Regions from separate parts of the Homo sapiens genome. Here all the other regions are linked to region 3. Evidence: promoter capture Hi-C in 16 types of primary human blood cells and fetal thymus (Javierre and others, 2016). All regions are on one chromosome and are shown on one strand. The core of a region is centred on a gene start or on the middle of the fragment in contact, and the rest is flanking DNA. Distances in the headings are between cores, read along the strand shown.

What was found. The method cuts DNA at HindIII sites, captures the fragments that hold promoters and counts their contacts. A CHiCAGO score of 5 or more calls a contact.
Region 1: a fragment that was not itself captured here is called in contact with the fragment with the promoter of LINC02724 in region 3 in 6 of 17 cell types (megakaryocytes, endothelial precursors, M2 macrophages and 3 more); the score reaches 13.5 in megakaryocytes.
Region 2: a contact is called between a fragment that was not itself captured here and the fragment with the promoter of LINC02724 in region 3, in 3 of 17 cell types (megakaryocytes, M1 macrophages and endothelial precursors). The highest score is 5.4, in megakaryocytes.
Region 4: a fragment that was not itself captured here is called in contact with the fragment with the promoter of LINC02724 in region 3 in 6 of 17 cell types (M0 macrophages, M1 macrophages, megakaryocytes and 3 more); the score reaches 8.3 in M0 macrophages.

The regions. Positions count from the first base shown.
Region 1 is chr11:64,671,231-64,673,930 of GRCh38, reverse strand. The region is part of intron 7 of NRXN2 (neurexin 2); the gene reads left to right. Among named protein-coding and RNA genes, the nearest start is that of NRXN2-AS1, 29 kb to the right of the region's middle. The HindIII fragment of the contact is 4,540 bases long and covers 1-2,700 here.
Region 2 is chr11:64,627,507-64,630,206 of GRCh38, reverse strand. The region is part of intron 19 of NRXN2 (neurexin 2); the gene reads left to right. Among named protein-coding and RNA genes, the nearest start is that of NRXN2-AS1, 15 kb to the left of the region's middle. The HindIII fragment of the contact is 2,694 bases long and covers 1-2,644 here.
Region 3 is chr11:64,447,799-64,450,498 of GRCh38, reverse strand. It overlaps LINC02724 (long intergenic non-protein coding RNA 2724), which reads right to left and starts at 1,442. Exons shown (of 2, transcript NR_073177.1): 1 at 847-1,442; 2 at 1-602. RefSeq lists a silencer at 722-917, a cis regulatory region at 695-964 and an enhancer at 854-1,103. The HindIII fragment of the contact is 9,068 bases long and covers 1,295-2,700 here.
Region 4 is chr11:64,698,059-64,700,758 of GRCh38, reverse strand. The region is part of intron 2 of NRXN2 (neurexin 2); the gene reads left to right. Among named protein-coding and RNA genes, the nearest start is that of NRXN2, 24 kb to the left of the region's middle. The HindIII fragment of the contact is 3,809 bases long and covers 1-2,700 here.

The sequences.
Region 1 (2,700 bases), core at 156-2,655, 220 kb before region 3:
GAGTAGCTTAGACTACAGGTGCATGCCACCACTCCTGGCTAATTTTTTGTATTTTAGTAGAGACAGGGTTTCACCGTGTTGCCAGGCTGGTCTCGAACTGCTGAGCTCAGGCATTCCACCCACCTTGGCTTCCCAAAGTGTTAGGATTACAGGCATGAGCCATCGTGCCCCAGCAAGGCACCATCTCTAAAACAAACAAACAAACAAACACCCTATCTCTAAAACAAACACACACACACACAAACAAAACAAAAAAAAGTAAACAATACTGTCTTGTTTCAGTCCTGGAAAGGAAAGTATCTGCTAAATTCTGAGTCTCTAAAGTCTGCACTTTCCTGCATGAGCAATACTGACTGATAAACAGACCTGGTTGCCTTTTGGTGGCCTCATAGACCTTCATAAATCTGTACTAGGAATCAGCTCTTTCAGCCAAGACCAGAGTCAGAGGCCTTGTAACAGGGTTCAATGTGTTCTGATTCCCAAGGCATCCCCCAGACAGGTTTTGGTTAGTTTCCAATTTATTTTTACTAACTCATTTATATGGACTATTTTCATGTTGTTTGAGCACTTCTTCTTGGGGGAGAGGGTGGATATAAAGCAAAAAGGCCAACCTTGAGAAGGTTGAGAAGTTCGGATTAGGTGTGATCAGGCTGATGGAGTTTGCTTGTACAAATAATGATAGTTCTTTGTACACACACTGGGACTCTTTGAATAGCTTTCCCCTTTTGAATATCATTTAAACTTGAATGCCTGGACTGCAAGTAGCAGGCAGAGATTGTTTCCAGTTAACAGATGGGGAAAGCTGAAGCCCAGAGAAAGCACCTTGCCTAGGGTCAGATAGCCAGATATCGAGGAGTTTCACTTCAGTTTTCTCATTTGGTGCTCAGAGTAAGCCTGGAAGAAATGGGAGCGACAGTTGTTAAACTCCTGTCACAGATGAGAGTCAGAGGTAAAATGGGATTGTTCTGGAAAAGGATAAAGGCTGAATGAGAGCCCAGGATTTCTGACCTCTTTCCTCTCTATTCCCAAACTATCAAATCCAGACCTCAGGATTCATGACAGGGCTGTGCCTGCTGGTTCAGTCCATCTTCATGGTGTGTCTTTCCAACCCGAGTCTCTGGTTAGCTTCTGCCCTCTCATTGAACAGGTAGCTAACCCAAACCCTTAGCAGGACTTGCAGTACCTTACTCAGCCTGGAGACCCTTTCTTCCTCTTTGTCTTTGTCCCTTATTTCCACCCACTCAATCCTAAGGGGATGCCAGGACCTTTCCCCTAGACTAGTTGCTCTTAACCACCTTTGGCTCATGGATACCTTTGAGAATTTGATGACAGCAATGGACTCTCACAGGAAAAAAACCCACGGAGGCAGTTTTGCACACAATATCAAGGGGCTTGGAATCTCCCAAGCTCAGCCAGCTTGCCCACAAGTTAAAAATACCCGCCCTCCGTCTTGTTCTCCCCAGATTAAGTCCCCCTCCCAAGGAGGTTAGTGACCCTGTGATCATCACAGGCAACTGATAAAGGCTCCAGAAGATGGCAGAAGGATACTTCCCCTCTTCCTCAGCCTTTCTTCCTAAGGCATGTGGACATGGAGTGCCCACCAATGTGGAGTTATTTATGGCCAGGACTTAGTTTCATATCCTGCACAGCCTGCCACAGGGGAGGTGCATGGAGCAGAAAGAGAGGTGGGGTCAGCAGGGAGGGCTGAGAGCCCACCCAAGTCACAGGCTGCCCCTTGTGTCCACCTCCAGCCAGCCTCTCTGCTCCTGGGGAGTACAGTGGGGGCTGGGCAGTGGGCTCCTGCTGCCTCTGCACCCTCTCCCTTCTCTGGCTGGACACAACTCTTCCAGGGCAGAAGCTCTGGCTCATTCCCCTTGGCCAGCTCAGTACCCACTCGGCCTGCTTGTCTGTGTTGAGTGGGTTGGCATGGGTTGGGTGCAGACACTCTGCTGTGTCTCAGTGATGCTGTTTGGAAGGAGAGAGCTGGAAGGTCCCACTGCCCTGGGTAGGATGTGGTATGTACGCAGGTGTGTCTCGGGGTTGGTGATCGGTGGCGAATGGGTGGTGGAATGAGTGTTGGGTCGCCTGCTGTTGAGGAAGGTAGAGTCAAATGTCTTTTCTCTTTATTTTTCAACCCATAAGTGTCTCTGTCCTAGTGGTCACTCCTCTCTCTTTCCCCCCATCATCGGAAGGAAGCTCTCCCTACCTGCACCCCACAGCTCTGTTGCCTCCATCTCTGCTCCTCCCAGTGCCCCTGCCCCGCACGCCTTCTTACCTGGCTGCCTTTCTCTGGCCTGTCCTGCTGGGTCTAGCCCTCACTCTGCTCCTCTAACCTGCATGTGTCCAGCTGCAGTGGCTGTTCTGTGTCGCACGGCCCCCTCCCTTCCCTCCTCCCCCACCGGCCCCACCCCTTCCAGAAGATGCGTGGGGGGGAGGTTGGGGGGCAGGGGCATCATGAACCCCTGGGGTGGAGGGGGACCGGGGGAATTATTCCCCTGTTTCCTGCTTTTACTAACGAACCTGCCATTTTTGTGTCTGGACTTTGATTCGTCTGAGGGAACAGTCGGGTTTTACTAATCTAAGTCATCTCCCTCCTTGCCTTCCCCAGAGACCTTCCTCCATTCCCTCTACCCTTGGCTTCCTTTCCACCCAGAACCCGTCCCCACTATCTCCCTCTACTCCCCACCTCTGGCTGATCCC
Region 2 (2,700 bases), core at 48-2,547, 180 kb before region 3:
GGCGGCGGGGCGAGACCGTGGTGGTGCGAATGCGCCCCCTATGGGGGAGGGTGCAGGGCTGAGCTGGGAAGGTTGCAAGGCCAGGGTCCAGTTTGGGGGTGGGGGGAGAAGTGGAGGGAGGGTAGAGGTGAGGAGAATCTGATGCGATTGCGGAAAGGTTGAGTTCAGAAATGAGGGAGACAGATGCAGAAACAGGAGAGAAAATCCAGAAGTAATATAAAACGTGTCTTGGCAAGGAGACAGGGCTGTTACCACGGGCAGAGCCAAGGAAAGAACCGAGGTCCTTATAAAGAGCAAGTCAGAGATCCATATTAGGAGATCTAACGAAGGAAGAGGAGTAGCCACGGAGACTCAGAGAAAAGGACCCCCAGTGTCCAAGGCGGTGAGGGACATGGTGAAAGGGAGGAAGAGACAAGTGACAACAAAAATGAAACACAGGGTCATGTGCGTTCAATAACCTTTGTTGACAACCTACTTAGATATCAGGGCTTGTGCTAGGTCCGGGGCACTCAGTCCCTGCTTGCAGGGAGCCTTGAGAATGCAGACAGACCAAGTTCAACAGGGTGACAGCTGTGGCGGCCAAGGACAAACCAAGGTCTGAGGAGCACAGGAGAGGGATGGAGATGAGGACATGGAAGAAATGAGGAGGCAGAGACTCTGAAAGATATTGAGGGAGGCAGAGACAGAGCCTTAGAATGAGAGGAAACCAGAGGGGAAGCAATGGAAAGATATGGAAATAGCACTGAACTATATGCAAAGATGAGGAGAGATGTGGAGAGGTAGATGGAGATGCTGACATGCAGGCCCAGGGAGAGAAGAGGTGGACAGAGCCTTGGGAGGGAACGGAGGAGAGCCCCAGCATGGGAGATAAAGAGGGAGGGGAAACAGGAACGCTGCAGGGAGAACTGCAGAAACACAGAGATGGTGAGATACAGTCTGAGCGACATTGCAGTCACACACAGGGCCTGACTGAGAAGCAGAGTGAGCATCTGCGACCTCCATCACTCTCCCAGGCGGAGAGATAGCCAGGCTGAGGCAGAGAAGCTGCCCCATGCTGACTGCGAGGGGCAGGGGCAAAAGGCCAATGTGTAAACTTTCATGGGCTCACCTATGCTGGAGTAAAGATGCCAGTACAGGCTTATGACACCAATTACGCAGGCTTGTACCCAGACATTTCTGGAAAGTCCCTGGAGATAAAGAGGCCTGCGTGGCCCCCTAATACATACAGAGGTTCATGTACACACAGGTCAACCTTAGACATATGGACAACTGCAGACATTTGTATGGTCAGACAGACACATGAAAAAACAGCTCTGCAGAGGGATGCCAGCCTACATCAAGTCCCTGGGTACATGTAGGGACACTCAACACACACCAACCCTCCTACACTAAATTCCACCTATCCCCCACGCCCCCCAACAAGCCAACACTGACAGCTCTGGCTGTGTAGGCATGATTCCTGTGGGCAGCAGACTTCTCTCATTCTCCGATGCACACATACTAGGGCAACCTTTGTAGCAGTGATGACATTGGCCTGTGCTGGACAGGGCTGGGCTTGGAAGCATGAAGGCCTCACCATGTCAAGCCAGGACTTGGATCTAGAGCTTCTCCCCTTGGGGCCCAGGAGGCCAGCAGTCAGGGTGGAAGAATTATTCCTGCTCTCCTCTCCTCAGGGACCCCTGACTAGGGGTGAGGAAAGGCTGCTGGGTGCCCCCGCCTGTAAAGGGGAGTAACATGAGGGTCTGGTGGTTGCCTGTATATACTGAGGGCAGATCCTGAGCAATACCAGCAGGTCAGACCATCAGTATGCATGGGCCCAGAGTGGGGGGGGACCCTCTGATTCTTTGGGAGCACAGAGACACAGCCCATGGATTCTGAGTCAGAAGAACCTGGGTTTTAATCCTGGATCTCCCACTGACAAGCGTGTAACCTTGGACAAGTCATCTAGCCTCTCTGAATCTCAGTTTCCACTTCGGAAAGGTGATGATACCTACCTCATAGCAATACTGTGAGAATGTCATTAAACACTAGAATGGCATGGCATAGCAAAGGTGCTCAATAAATAGGACTTTTATTAGAATTTTTGTATACTCAGCCTCCCTCCAGGCAGATGTACATTTTTCTCTTCCTCTTGGAGACACACACACAGGATTGAATGATCTGTTTTTAATTTAAACACAAATATCCTGAATCTATAGGGAAAGCAGAATCTCCTTGCCTCATAAGCACCCAAGGAGGCACCATCCATACCCACATGAACACATCGTGTGTACCTTCATGGGAGGTGTACATAGGCAGGCCCAGGCCCGGGTCTCTGGGCAGGTGAGCACAGCTGTGCAGTGAGAGATGAGAGGAAAAGCCTCCTGGCCCCACCAGCGTGCACTGAATAGTATGTCAGTGGCTTAAATGGGAGGAGTGGCCAGATTCTCAAAGGAAATCAGTTCTCTTTCCACTGCTGCAGACCAGGATCACCCACAGCTCACAGAGGTGTACAGATCCTCTCAGGTGCACTGACAAACCTCTTTCCACATAGGCGTCTGTGCACACACACACATTCACACACATTCCCTTTCCCAGTCTCCAGGGGCTGGAGATTGGTGAGCGCAGAGAGGAACAGGTGGGTATCCAGATGGGCAGCCAAGCTTGCAGAAGAGATGGGGGCTGGAACTGGGGGGAGGAGCCTGGAAAAGAAAGGCTGAG
Region 3 (2,700 bases), core at 193-2,692:
AACAGAGGCAATGGGTCACTTCTGCAGGCCAGGAGGTACAGGAGAATCTGGGGGTTCAATGTCTCAAGAGTGTCTCCTCAGATAGTCCATCTCAGATATCAGGGACCCCACCCTTCCCTTTGGGGCCCTGACTTTGGAGAAGGGACTTCCCTGGGCTGGAAATTTGGCCTTCTCTGGAGTCCTGCACCTTGTCTTCTGCCCTCTGACCCCTGGCTATAGAAGAGAAGCATTTCGTTAAATTCTGCCAAGGAATCCTGACTTTGCTTTAAATTGGTGATGCGTGGCCCTGAACTTGTCATTTTCCCTCTTCTAAGTGTCAGTAGTATTCAGTGACAGCCTCCCCACTCCACGTCCTTCTCACGGCTATTTTCCCATCTGTCTCTCAACATCAGTGATATTAAACGAGCCGGGCATCCCCGTCCACCTGAGTCCTGTCCCAGGTGACCACAGGCGGAGGCCTGAGCAGCTGCTCTGCCACCTCGTGCCAGGGGCCTCCGCAACGGGCTCCAGTCACCAGGGGCCAGCGGGGCATCCTCCTGCAGCATCCCGTCCTTGGGGCCAGCTTCCTGGGGCCCCTCCTGCTGTTCCCTGCCTTCAGCTGTCTGAAAACAGAGCCCAAGACAGGGATTTACTAGGGGAGGGCTCATCCTGGGACAAGCCGCCCAGGATGTGAGGGCAGAGGGGCGGGGAAGGAGAAAGGACTCGGTAAAGGCGTGGTCCCAGGGTAAATACAGCTCTGGCAGATATGCAGGGGGCCCTGGGGCAGAGGTATCGCCATCTAGAGGCAGGCGAGGGAACAGTCTTTTGTACAGTTAGCCGTGGGCTGTGGGCGTCGCCTGAACGTACCAGGTATTGTGGCTCCATTGGCTGAGGATGCTTCTCCAGCGAAGGAGGCAGGGAGCCGGGGAAGTGGGGTGGGGTCGCGACACCGACAGCAGCTGCCAGACCAGCCATGCTGCGCTCAGCTCCCTCAGGCTGTCACTCTTAATCATCATGTCACTATCTCTGGGGCGTGTCAGTCACCATCAACGACGTGTCCCCCAAGCTGCAGAGGACGCAAATCCAGCTCTCCAAGAGGCTCTGTTGGCCCTCTCCACATGGGCTTGAGGTCAGGGGTGGGGGCACGTTCGGACCGCCCTCCTGCCTCTCTGAAGAAGATCCTCCAAGTCCCGGCTCCAGCTCTCCGGCCTCTTTGGCAGCTGGGCGGGTGGCCATCCAGGAGGCCCGTTCTCCATGCCCAGTTTGGCAAGGCTCCTTGGGACGCCGGGCTCGCTGCCCCTGTTTTCTTAAAGCTTCGGCCCAAAGGGACCCAGAGTCTGAGGTTAACACTCCGTCATCCCAGCGTGAGCGGCGCCTGACTCCAGCTCTCGACTCCCCCACCTCCTATCCCCTGCGCCGGGCTCACCCTGCACTCCCACCTGCAAATCAGCAGAGCAGAGGCCAGCGCTCCCGACGTCCAGCACCACCCCAAGCGAGGCAGGGGGAGCTGAGTGGCCGGGAGCGCCATCTAGTGGGTGCCAGGGGCGAGTCCCCGAAAGAGACTGGAGAGCCACGACTCGGGCAGGGCAGGATGGTGTCCCAGGGAGGGCCGGGGCCCAGGCGCTGGACAGCAGAGGACATAAAGGGAGAGGCATGGGAGAGCGAGGAGCCAGGGTGCTTCCGGGGCGCATGAGCCCCACCCCAGCCTGCCCCTGCCCTCGTAACCAGATGACTCGGCTCAGGCAGGACACACCACGTCCAGTCTCTGTCCCCTCTCCAGACTCTTGGGAAAGTGTCACTTAAAATCCATTTGGGTCTGGTGTTTGCTTTATTCCAAGGAAAGGGGTAAGGAAAAATTCAGAAAAGGGGCGAGGGTCTCCCCTCTCCACAGTGGCAGTCAGGGGAATAGTGACATTCACCCCCTCCCCCAACCTGGTCTTGAACGTGGCAGGGAAGAGAACTGAGCCACCTGTCACCCAGAGGGGGAGGGGGAAGGTCAGAACTCCAGCCTTCCCACAGCAGACACGCCTGCGGGGCAGGAAGCAGGCAGGCTCCACGCAGTGTAGACATGTGCACTCACACGGATGTTAACAGTCTGGAAGAAACTGACCTGGCTGTGAATAGAGGCTCTCTCATGGGGAAGGGGCAGAAGATGGAGCTTTCACTTCTCCATTTATACACTTCTCCAAAATGTGGTGGGACCATGAGGAAACTGCACTTTCAGTTTTGATCTCTTTTTGTATTTTTTCAGTTAAAATGCAATTGGGAACAATGGGGTGTTAAGTGCCTCAGTGTGGAAGGCTGCGGCATCACCATTGAAATGCTGTATCAGACCTGGATTGGATCCACCCTCGACTCAGGGCTGTGCAAACTGGGACCCAGATCCCGCGCTGTGGGAACGGAGCCCTGCTCCGCTGTTTACATGTTGTCTCTGGCTGCGGCCTCGCTGTGACAGCAGAGTTGAGGAATTGCCACAGAGACTGTTATAGCCCACAAAGCCCAAAATATTTACTCGCTGGCTCTTTATGGAAAAAGTTTGCCAACTATCAAATTACAAGAAATACAGGGACTGGGGAGCCTGCTCAACAAAGCTAAGGGGACGTGACCAGCAAAATCCAGACTGCAGGCAACCATAGGACAAAGCGCCAGTTTCTTCAATACGTAATTTGCAACAGCAACCTGCTTACTAGAGGCCAGGAAGGGGAGGGGGAAAGGAGGGGA
Region 4 (2,700 bases), core at 191-2,690, 250 kb before region 3:
GAAAGGTTCTCATCACAGCGGTATTTAGTAAGGCGTATCTGTTACCTCTGCCAAGAGGGTCAGGCTGGGGATGGGTAGGGAGACTGACCAAGAGGAAGCTATTGCAGGAAACCAGGCACAAGGAGTGAGGCCAGAGGCTACGATGACCTAGGATTGCAGTGGAGAAGGGCAAAAGTGATTCTGTGCTCCTGGGTGTGTTTTCTTCTCTGTACAGAGTCGATAGATAACACCGAGCTCTGTGTTGCAGTGAGGCTGATGTGTGATATTGCATGTGAGGGTCAGTACGGTGCCCAGCACATGGCTAACTAATGGAATCTCTGGAACCTATGAGGGCAGTGTGGGGCATGTAGTGGGAGCTCAGGCAGCACTGGTTGAAAGCAGGGGCTTTGCTAAGCACAGGGGAATAAGCACTTGGTTGTAGGAGTGGAGGTGTCGAGAATGGCTTCAGTGGTGGAGTTTAGATGTCAGAGAGTTGGACGAGCAATTGCACTGCTGGGTGGACACATGGTGATACAGGACTGGTACTCAGGGAGGAGGCCGGGACTACCCATGGTTTGGGAGTCTCTGAGCACGAAAATGAGCCATCACTGAGGAGAGCGAGGAGAAGTAAGAGGAATGTGGAGGGCAGGGGCCAACCCTGAAGGGGACTGAGGTGGCAGGTGAGGGGCATAGGTGAATCAGCAGAAAGCAAAGAGCAGCAGAGGAAGAGAGATATGTGAGTTTCTAGGTGCTGTCTCTCAAAAGCCAGAAACAAACCAAGCCTGGTTGTTTCACCTTCCTGAGCATAGCATGACGTACATTTCTGGCAGGTGGAAATACTTTTTGAAATACCTACCATGTTGGATTATCTAGAAATCACCATGCCTCCTTATTTGCACAGGTGCTGGTGAGACAATTGTGCTGACTGACCAGGGTCTTAGCATACTGGGACCAAAGAAATCCTGGCACAGCAGTCTTCACGAGAGCCAAAGGGTTTCCTGAGGGCCCCTTTATTAGCCAGCTCCCCCCATAAATGAAATGTGATTCAGTTTACTTAAGAAAACTATTGCTGGGCACTGTGGCTCATGCCTGTAATCCCAGCACTTTGGGAGGCCGAGGCGGGCAGATCACCTGAGGTTGGGAGTTCGAGACTAGCCTGACTAACATGGAGAAACCCCATCTCTACTGAAAATACAAAAAGTAGCCGGGTGTGGTAGCGCATGCCGGAGGCTGAGGCAGGAGAATCACTTGAACCCGGGAGGTGGAGGTTGCGGTGAGCTGAGATCGCACCATTTCACTCCAGCCTGGGCAACAAGAGCAAGACTCCATCTCAAAAAAAAAAAAAAAAAAAAAAGAAAACTATTAGACATGTATCTTTTAGGTGATGCAGCTGTCAGGTAGAAGCAGCTCTGTGTTGTAGAGGAGTGTGTTTGTAACACATGTTGACATGGAAAGACTGTGTATGTAGGTTTAGGAAATGGGAGATAAAGAGCTGTGTTCATCGCTGGCTGTATGGCTTTAGCCACTGGAGTCACTGTGGGGTGGTGGTGTGTGTGTCTAGTGTTATGTAGTAGATTACTGTGTAGGTATTGGTGCTTGCATTCAGCCTGTGTATGTGCGTGGATTATGGGAGTGGTATAAGGTATGACAAATGACTATGTTTGTTTTCAGAGTATAGCTACCTCTCTATGAGCGAATGAACAGATATCACCAAATGGGGTTGGAGGTAGGAGGAGATAATGTGTGCATGCGTGAGTGTGAACTGGATAGCTGTGTGTACATAAGTGTGTATCCTGGGGCCTGCATATGCAAGTATGTGTTTCCCCACTGGGTTTGTGTGTTTGTAGATTGTGCTGTTTTCCCCCTCCTGCCTATTGCTTCATCTAAAGGCTCCCAGGAGGTGGGCACATGGCAAATGTTTGGAGCTGGGGGCACCTCCATCCTCTTACAAAGAAGATCAGAGCCCAACCTGCTTGAGGAGTTGTAGCTTAGTTGAAGGAATTGTCTCCATCTTCTCGTTGTTCCATCTTCTCCCTTGACCCATTTGGTGAGCTCCAAGGCCAGATCCAGGCAGGGCCCTAATAGGTGAGGTCTGCCTATCCAAAGGATGTGGCATGGTCTAGGTCTGGGCCCAGTGTGGCCCACTGAATTTGGACTCTCTTCCCCCACTGGCATGGCCATCCAGCCTGGGGGCCCTTGGCCTCATCCAGATGTTAAGAAGACATTTGTCCTAGAATCAGAATCAGAGTCAGAAGAGGCCTCAGAAACTATCCAGTCCACCCCTCTCATTTTGCAGAAGAGGCAGTAGGGACTCAGAGAGGTTAAGTGAATAGGATGAAAGTCACACAGTGCTGTGTGGCAGAATCATGTTTGTTCTCTCTGTGTCTTGATGTCTTTTCACCCCTGGGAGGGTCAGGGGCCGTAGGTGGTTGGGTCCTGTGTGCAGGGGCTTTATATGTGAATTGTGTGAGACAGTGTGTGTCACTGGATTGCTAAGTGCCTATGTGTGTCAGTGTGTCACTGAGCATGAGTGTGTCTCTAGTGAACCCTGTGAGACAATTAGTGGTGTGAGTGTGTCCCCATCTGTCTGTGAGATGCAATGGAATGCAGGGTAGGAGCCTCTCTGGGGAAGTTGAGAAGCCTGACTGCCACTCCTGGCCCTGCCTCAGATTCTCTGTGTGACCTTGAGTGGTTACTTCCCTGTCCTGGGCCTCGGTTTCC